Linked DNA regions of Homo sapiens: regions 2 and 3 are each linked to region 1. The links are contacts of gene promoters, found by promoter capture Hi-C in blood cells and fetal thymus (Javierre and others, 2016). All regions are on one chromosome and are shown on one strand. Each heading gives the region's core, a stretch centred on a gene start or on the middle of the fragment in contact. The rest is flanking DNA. Distances are from core to core; before and after follow the strand shown. Region 1 holds the start of BIRC2 (baculoviral IAP repeat containing 2). Region 2 overlaps AASDHPPT (aminoadipate-semialdehyde dehydrogenase-phosphopantetheinyl transferase). Region 3 overlaps MSANTD4 (Myb/SANT DNA binding domain containing 4 with coiled-coils).

The links. Contacts are between HindIII fragments. The CHiCAGO score rates a contact against its expected background, and 5 or more counts as called.
Region 2: a fragment that was not itself captured here is called in contact with the fragment with the promoter of BIRC2 in region 1 in 2 of 17 cell types (total CD8 T cells and total CD4 T cells); the score reaches 7.8 in total CD8 T cells.
Region 3: a contact is called between a fragment that was not itself captured here and the fragment with the promoter of BIRC2 in region 1, in 2 of 17 cell types (total CD4 T cells and naive CD8 T cells). The highest score is 7.5, in total CD4 T cells.

What each region holds. Positions count from the first base shown.
Region 1 is chr11:102,345,748-102,348,764 of GRCh38, forward strand. BIRC2 (baculoviral IAP repeat containing 2) reads left to right here and starts at 1,467. Exons shown (of 9, transcript NM_001166.5): 1 at 1,467-1,629; 2 at 2,851-3,017. RefSeq lists an enhancer at 2,019-2,088. The HindIII fragment of the contact is 3,484 bases long and covers 1-3,017 here.
Region 2 is chr11:106,079,938-106,082,954 of GRCh38, forward strand. The region is part of intron 2 of AASDHPPT (aminoadipate-semialdehyde dehydrogenase-phosphopantetheinyl transferase); the gene reads left to right. Among named protein-coding and RNA genes, the nearest start is that of AASDHPPT, 3.8 kb to the left of the region's middle. The HindIII fragment of the contact is 857 bases long and covers 965-1,821 here.
Region 3 is chr11:106,018,481-106,021,497 of GRCh38, forward strand. MSANTD4 (Myb/SANT DNA binding domain containing 4 with coiled-coils) reads right to left here. Exons shown (of 3, transcript NM_032424.3): 1 at 2,482-3,017. Among named protein-coding and RNA genes, the nearest start is that of MSANTD4, 2.3 kb to the right of the region's middle. The HindIII fragment of the contact is 2,234 bases long and covers 321-2,554 here.

The DNA of each region.
Region 1 (3,017 bases), core at 217-2,716:
TTGGTCAGGACAAGAACTGAAAAAGAGAAATAATCTTGAGTTCAGAATGAACAATTCTTGCTATATATATTTTCCCACATGTGTTAGGAATGTTCTGTAAACCTTCCGAGAAATAGTGACTTGAACTAAATACTAAACTACTACCAAGCCCCAGGTGCATTTTTGGAAGTTTTTAGTCATTGGGAGCCATGGCATTTCTTTTCTCTGTATTACAAACTGTTACACTCACTTTCTTTGACTATTAACATTGGAACAGTAGACCTCCTGTTCTGTGACTGACTGGCAGGCAGAAATGACACAGACAGGAAATGGGAAATGGTTCAGGGTCTTGGAATTCCCCCGGCTCCCTAATTAAGTGGCTTGCTATTTGGAAGTTTTTTAAATATTTGCCCCTTGGAGTTCCCCAGAGAGAAGCAAGCATCGGATTCAACGGGCAAAGAGCGTCAACTTCAAAAGTCGTTCGTTGGTTGTCATACCACAAACATTTACTGCACGACACTGTGTCTATGGCACTATTGGGGGAGTATGGCGGGGGGATACAAAAGGTCCATGACTAGCAAAAGCCAAGGGTTTTTATTTACAAATTTTCTATTACCTAAGCATTAAAAAAAATTGGGCTCCTCTCTGGTTTATGTACAATTATATGTGCATGTACACCAATACACAGGCAGACGTATATATTTCATTTTATTGAAACATTCAGAAAATACTGGGAGTGAAGCCTGACTTGCAATACAGTTCTCTTTGCTGGCAATGAGCATCTGAAATAATGACACTTTTTTCTTTAGTGCATATGAACTGTTTGTCTCCAGAACAGAAAACCAAAAGTTTAAAAACAAGATACTCCCGTTGACATCAAGTCTTCAGAATTATTCATCTGATGCTTCCTAGTTTCCAAAGTTTCGCTTTTTTCGATTTGCACAGGCAGCTGTTGAACGCTGATGCTACACAAACGGTTACAATTGTTTACTTAAGCAAAAAATGCCACCAGACTGACTCCATCCTCAAAATGCAGTCATCTGGACGGGGGGAGGCATCACACTTGGGGAGCCTTGCCAGGGGCCAGATCATAACCCTGAGGTGACACAGGGTAGGACGCGCAAAACCACCGGCGCCAGGGCGTTTCCGCAGGGTTTCCCAAAACTCAAACGCAGCGGCTCACGGTTTGCCACGTCCCCCAGGAGAATGGTAGACACAGAGAGGAAATGTGGAGAGGGCACAAACCGCAAGGTGAAGAAAACGAACAAACACCGAGTTGATACGGATAGTCCCCGTTCCCCTGAGGGCCGACCCCGTGACTCCCGATGAGCGTCCAGTTGCGCCGGGCATCCTGGCCTCCCAGCGTCTTTCCCGGAGGTTCATCGCCGCACGGCGGAAAGCGCTCTCGGTTCCGCTTTCCGGCCCCAGCCTCCCGGGCGCCCTCGCGCGGCGGCTAACGCTGGTCCTCGGCCGGGCGCGCTGACGTCATCGTGCGTCAGAGTGAGCCCGGATGGGGCGGCGGGCTTCGGGAGCGCCCGGGCTGATCCGAGCCGAGCGGGCCGTATCTCCTTGTCGGCGCCGCTGATTCCCGGCTCTGCGGAGGCCTCTAGGCAGCCGCGCAGCTTCCGTGTTTGCTGCGCCCGCACTGCGGTGAGTGCTGCTCCTTCCGGGCTCGGGCGGCGTGGGGCGGGTGGGGACGCGAGGGCCCGCGGGGGCCCACTTCCCTGATGTGGCGGCGAACGAGGAAGGACGGGGCCTGAGGCCCTTCGGCCAAGGGTCGAGGGTCGCCGGGGGCTCTCTGCTTTCTACTCTCGCCAAGGTTTTATTGGATTCGGAAGCCCCAACTTCGAGACTTGCAGTCAAAGCGATTTTTAAAATGACTTGTTTTCAAGCCTCTGGCCGCCGCCCACTCTTCTGGCCCTTGGACTTTGACCAAGATGTTTTCTCGCAGTTTTTGCAAGGTTTTAAACTTAGCCCTCGGCGTTCTTTTAATGTAATACATTGAAACGAAGATATTTCGGTGGCGGCGATATTTCATATTTCATAGTTGCCACTGCGCTCTGTCATTCCAGTAGTCGTCTGTTGTGTATTGTGAGAAGCAACTCTGGGAAATTATTGGGTAAATCCCATAGTTTCTATTCTTTTCCCTTCCATCCTATCCCCTGCCCAGCTGCAATTTGCGTAAAGAGAATGCAGCAGTGCGGTGCACGTAGATAAAAATCTTTCATTTAAAGATAGGATATAAGACCGGGTGTAATTAAAGCAATCATGCCAGTGGTCGTAGTGCCGGAGCCACTGTTTCACAGGCCACTGTGTTAGGTTTTGTTTTCGAGTTGCTTTCTGTGGTCGTTGCTTTGAAATTGTAAGGGAATGGCAGAGTTTAAGAGTTTATATTAATGAACTCGTGGTGCATTTTACTGCAGTTTTCCTAGTCGTGGAGAGACTTGATATTACAAACTAACGTTGCTGTCTTAATTCCTGCTGTACTGCTGCTGACAGGGTGTAGTGGAGTGTCTGTCTGTCTTTTTAACCAATGTGCCTTTGCCTCCAGCAGAGTGCCAGAGTTACCTTTAGGCCAGAAAAGGGGAGGAGAGCAAGGACAAAATGTTTCCTGTGTGAAAATTTCCATCTGTCTCTGAAGTTGTGCGTTTTAAAGACACGTATAGTTAGTGCTATGGGGAGTATGTTGCATTTACTTATTTTAATTAATAGCTTTTTCATTTAGAAAGTTGTGACAAATTGCTGGAATTAAGATGTATTATCTAAAGTGTGAATTATTCTTAGACTTTACTGAATAAATTGAAGAGTATGTAAGTTCTATTTGGCATGCACATACAGTTTTCTAAAATACTTTTTGTTTTTTCTTTTCAGATTTACAACCCTGAAGAATCTCCCTATCCCTATTTTGTCCCCCTGCAGTAATAAATCCCATTATGGAGATCTCGAAACTTTATAAAGGGATATAGTTTGAATTCTATGGAGTGTAATTTTGTGTATGAATTATATTTTTAAAACATTGAAGAGTTTTCAGAAAGAAG
Region 2 (3,017 bases), core at 143-2,642, 3.7 Mb after region 1:
GAAATATTAAGTGAAATTTTTTTTGAATTATACTTCAATTTATTTCACTTAAACATTAACCACAATTTTTCAGTTAATTGTTTGTTTTTTAAAAAAGAATCTGAATAGTAAAGTACATTGTAGTCCTTATGTAGAGATAACGTATACAGTTGACACATGAACAACACAAGTTTGAACTGCATGGGTCTACTCATGTGAATTTTTTTCAGTAGTTGGCCCTCTGTCCCCATAGATTCTGCATCCACAATCAAACGTGTATCAAGATTCAGTATTTGCAGGATATGAAACCTGAGGATGTGGAGGGCTGACTTCATATATGCAGGTTCCATAGGGCCGCATGCGCAGATTTTGGTATCTGAGGAGGGTCCTGGAACCAGTCCCCAGTGGATACCAACGGGCGACTCTTTGTTCTGCATCTAAATACATCTCTTTTTAGCCCATTTATGTAAGTAAAAATGAGGAGCAAGCATTATTAAAATATTTAAGTTGCTTATATATTGCCTTAGAAATTTGTTAGTGGTGGCTTTAAGGACCACTAACATTTGTGGTGAAGTTGAATGTACCCAGGCAATTTAATACATACTAAATACAGGTTCTCTTAACTGCTGTATATTTGTCATCATCACTAACATTTAATGAACACTTAACCACGTGTCATGGCATTTTACATAGTGCTTTAGACATATTCTGTGATTTAATTCTCTCAACTACCCTATGATGCATATACTGCTATTTTTAAAGAAAATAAGTAACAGGCTAAGAAGAAAGCTATTAATAAAAGAACCCACATCTTCCTAATTTCATAGTAAAACTATCTAATCTCCATACTGCCTGCACCATATGTGGTTTGAATATGTGGCTCTCTCAGTCTGTAAGGCTTGTATTAATTTTATCTCTCACTCCCATTTCTGCATAGAGAACTCCTATTTACTTGTTAGATTTCACCTTAACCTTACTTTAGGGAAGCTTTGTGAGCCTTCAATCTAAGCTAGGTTCTTTTGTTGTAGGTTCTCATAAAATATATTTTCCTTATTCCAGTAATGTATCTCAGTTGATTATTCATCAGGATGATTGATTATCTTTTCCTGATACTTAAAAGCTGTGTGAGAGCAAGAACCATGTTAGCCACATCAGAGTTTGATCACTATCACATCTCTTAGTACCTTGCCTAGCATGTAATAGTAAAATATTTGTCAAATGAATGAATAAACACTGTGCTGTTAGAGTATAGGCTTCAGTGTGGTTGTGAATCTCTTCTCCCTTTTGCTTTTATTGTCCTTACCTTGCATTTTCCTACTAGCTACTCTTTCTCTTACCTGCTAATAAACCTTTCCAGTACAACTCTATTCTCAGGTTTGTTCAGAACAAGGCCCTACTAGTGATTTTGGAAACCTTATAACAGATTGTTGATCTGATTCCCTGGATAAGATTCCAGGAATTTTGTTTACCTCCTGAAACTGTATGCTACATTTTGTATGATATGCACATGTGCATTTTTCTTGGGAAAGGATCTGGTATTCAACAGGGACATAGGTGGCTTACTCTAAAAAAATTGCTGCTATAGAGGATTCTTAGCATGGGAATTAGCCCATATATTCTTGTAGCTTTCTGCTGTCATTACAGGAACTTTTTCTAAAATCAGAAATGGAAAGGCCATTGTTTTTTAGAATGCAGTCAGCACAACTACCTGGTAATAATTGGCCCAGTGGGTTGGTATCTGCTTGGAAATGATACTTCTGAGAAACAGATTTTGTTACCAGTTAACTTGATGGGCAGTGTTGGCTATGGTCAATGCTAGATAAACAAGTAATTAATAACTGAAGCTTTTAATAAATGATGGTGTTCTCACTCATAGATGGGAATTGAACAATGAGAACACATGGACACAGGAAGGGGAACATCACACTCTGGGGACTGTTGTGGGTGGGGGAAGGGGGGAGGGATAGCATTAGGAGATACACCTAATGCTAAATGATGAGTTAATGGGTGCAGCACACCAGCATGGCACATGTATACATATGTAACTAACCTGCACATTGTGCACATGTACCCTAGAACTTAAAGTATAATAATAATAATAATAAAAAAGAAAAATAAATGATGGAAAGACAATTGAGCAAAAATTTAAGATTTAGTTTTCCTGTTAATTGTGTTATTAGACCTCCCCCCACCAGTTTTTTTTAGTTGATCTTACTTGACTAATCACAATGTCTAGGCCTTTTCCTTTTCTTTATTTTGTTGTGAAAAAGCTGTTGCTATGTCCAGTAACACAGAAAGGAAGAGAGATTTTCCAATTGTCACTAGTGTTGTTACCATGCTACTGATTCCTGAAGCATCAATGGACACAGCATGATTTCTTAATGAAGATGGGAAGTAGACACTGATTTGCTTCATTGGAGATTCTTTGAATTGCTCTACTTATTGTAGTAAGTGAGGAGATTGAGCAAGGGATTTTTCCTAAGAGTCTTGCTAAATGATGCTAGGCAAAACTTAGGAGAGCAGCAAGGAAAGTACTCTGTTTTGTACTAGGCATTGTTACTAGATTGCCAACTCTAAAGACAGAGTTGGCTTTTGGGGGTTATCATTAGTGCATTGAAAGAGTCAATTCCATTACTCTGTCTTGTCCTATAGGTAAGAATCCACTAGGAACTCAGAGAGTCTTTTTCTTTCATGGTGCATTAACCATTTCTGCTGAGTGCAGCTCATTTCCCTCCCTCTACCTGTTCTCCCAACTGTTGCTGTGGACGTGCAGGAGAGAACATACCTAGTATATAGCCTACCATATGCCAGGACGGTACATTCTTACTCTTAGGAAGAATGGTGTTTTCCTGGTCTTCATCTTAATTTATTACCCTCTTTTGGAAAATTTTGGTTGGTTTTCCCTTTGTTTTCTAATTTTTTCTACCATTAAAAGTGTTTGAAGTGATAAGCATAAAGGGTAACTTTTGAATTGTTTAGTTTTGTGACCATATTTACAAAGTAAGGCAAAATAAAATAGACAAAATACATAAAAATTA
Region 3 (3,017 bases), core at 188-2,687, 3.7 Mb after region 1:
AAAGCTCTCCAAGTGCTTCTCATTTGCAGCCAGGATTGAGAACCACCCAACTAGAGAATCAATGTTAAGAGTTTACTTGGTGAAATATGTACAGAAAGGCAAGGCAGAGAGCAAATGGTGTAGCTCCTAAGAAACTTCCTTTAGGAGATTATTAAGAAAAGACCTCATCTGCCACAAAAGACTTAAAATACAGACAAAGCTGGTTTATTTATGGAAAAATATGCCCAAGAGAATGTTATGTCAAATGCAAGAAGAATATGCTAGTTGTAGGACCAATTCACACTCCTATTTGTTGGAAACACATCAAAAGAATGAATGAAAGCTTAGGTGATTTAGATATAAGAAGAAAAGGACTGCTCTCTTGAGAACCAAATTTTCTTCTAAGTAGAATGTCTTTAGACCCCTATCCATATCTCCATTAGGAAAAATTATGACTGAATTAGTAGTATAAATCAGGAACATGCATTATTAGATGAATTAATTAGGACACTGTGTCATTCAATAGGTATATACTGAGTGTTTAAAACCTTTCAAGGCTTTCCATTGCACTTAAGAGGTAAGTTTACTTCCCTTGCTCTTCCTCTCTTCCTATTGTAAACCCTATCTGAACCCTACCTTTACACTTTCCCATCTACCTTTTCTGGTCTTATCCATCACCTCCAGTACCAACTCCCAACCTACTTTCCCAATCCACCTTCCTCATCAAACATGTACTCACATGTAGGTGGCACACAAACACAATACCAGTCATTTTCAAATCCCTCTAAATTCTAGATCAGTGCTGTCCAATAGAAATGTAAGAGCCCTATATGTAATTTTAAATCCCCAAGTAGCCACATTAAAACGGTAAAAAGAAACAGGTAAAAGTGAGTATTTTATTTAACCCAATATATCCAAAATGTTATTTTGAAATATAATCAATATAAACAATTATTGAGATATTTACATTCAATAATGTAAGGCTACTGGCTACCATACTGGAACAGCACAACTCAAGCCATCATGGTCCCTGACCTTGGACTATCACACATATATTTCCCCAGGTCATCTTCCCCATTTCCATGGTGTCTGCCTTTTCGTCAGGCCAATGCCTACTCATCCTTCAGCACTCTTGTTTAAATGTCTTCTGTTCCAGGATCTCTTCACTGTTCCCATTCACCTAAGTCTGATGTCCTCCCTATGTGCTTCCACTATCAGCTTTATTACACCACTGATTTACATTAGGAGCAATAAGAGATCAGATACGAATATATTATTCCTGCTATCAAATAATTTGCAACTTAGTAAAACACAGATGCATAAAAAAAGTACATAAACAAATTGTAATGAAGTCTGTAACCTGAAGGTTGTGAATACAGACTACCTAAGGCTGTATGCCAATTCCACCACTTAACTAGCTCTGTGATCTCCAGCGAATTACTTAACCTCTTAAACTTGTTTCTTCATCTATAAATGGGAATAATAGACTAATACTCGTGATGTTTTGAAGATTAAAAGAGATAAACCGATTAAGAAGTTTATCATGCCTAAGACATAGTAAGCCCACAAATGTCAGCTATTATCCATTGCCCAGTACAGTATCTGAATGTAATTAACAAATATTTCTTCACTGGATGAATAATGCAAATATACAAAAACTACAATAAAGAAATACTAACAAAATACTCTGGATATTCATAAGAAAGACAAATCTTTGATGGGATCAAGGAATGTTTTGAGTCAGAATCAGCATTTGATTTGGGTCTTATAAAACAGACTAATGAGGGACAGAAATAAAAGAAAGAAGTATCAGGAATTAAAGCTGGAAAATTAGGATAGTGCCAAGCAGCAAATCTTACTAAGCGAATTCTGGCTTAATAAGACTATTATTTGCTAAAAATGAACTGAAAGAGACAAATATAACTGTGAAAGTTTTTTGAAATTCAAGCAGGCTACCATTAATATGGAAGAACTGTTACTGTAGTAACATATAAATATATAACCAATATAAGTATATAATAAAAATGATTGAAGTTGTCGAGAGTCCAAATTTATGCAGATATCCACCGTAAGATTTTGCTCTTAGAATCTGAGATCAATTTAGAAATCGCATTGTTGTAAATGTATTGGTACATGGTAGAAATAGCAGTCCTTTTGAAGTACCACTGAGTCAATATATTTTTAAAGTTTGACAGCAGCTGTTGCTATTTGCAGGGCCTATTTTTGACCAACAATTCCTAACTCCATATCTCTAACTTACAAAGTGGTATCCCGTTGTCCTGACTGATCTATTCTGAACTGATGAACTATTTCATTTAATCAAATGGGCTTTAATACATTTTTAACCTGACTGAAATTGATATTGGGATGCACCTTAGATACCCAGTCTTGGCTTAATTGTGTGAAAATCTTCTTCTAAAACCTTGATATTTTCTGATTAAGTGCAAGAAAGTGCCAGCATTGATGCATCTTGAGTTGTTGAAGTTCTGTAGATATGCTTACCTGGATAAAAGCCATTTCCAGAAATGTTTGTCTTCCTGTCCTCTCCTTTATATGCCGGTATCCAAGTAACAGAAGCTTGGGTTTTCTACCATCCATTCATTCCCCAATAATTTCCTCAAAAAATACTTACTGAGCTCCTACTGTGTGAAAGGCACTATTTTTGGTGCTGGGGATATAACACCTCATAAAATGTGAAAATATGTCATTTTAGATGTCAAACACTATCCCTTTTCTATTGCCTGTCATCGCTCTCTTAGCAGAAAGGATTCAACAGCTGCAGTCTCTAAAACTTACAAACCTTCTATGCCCAATCACAGAGAACAGCCATTTTCTAAAATCCCATTTCACAATCGTTCTTCACTAGTTGGAAACAGGAATGAGATGTAGTTCACTTACGTAATCCTTGTGAAGATGATGTACTGCCAATGGCATAATATAACCAGGCAACTTTTTACAAGCACTAAAACTTGAGAATGAAGTTCCTAGATACTTCATGATAAGTCAGAATTAAGAAGTCTGAGAAAAACCAGACGGCA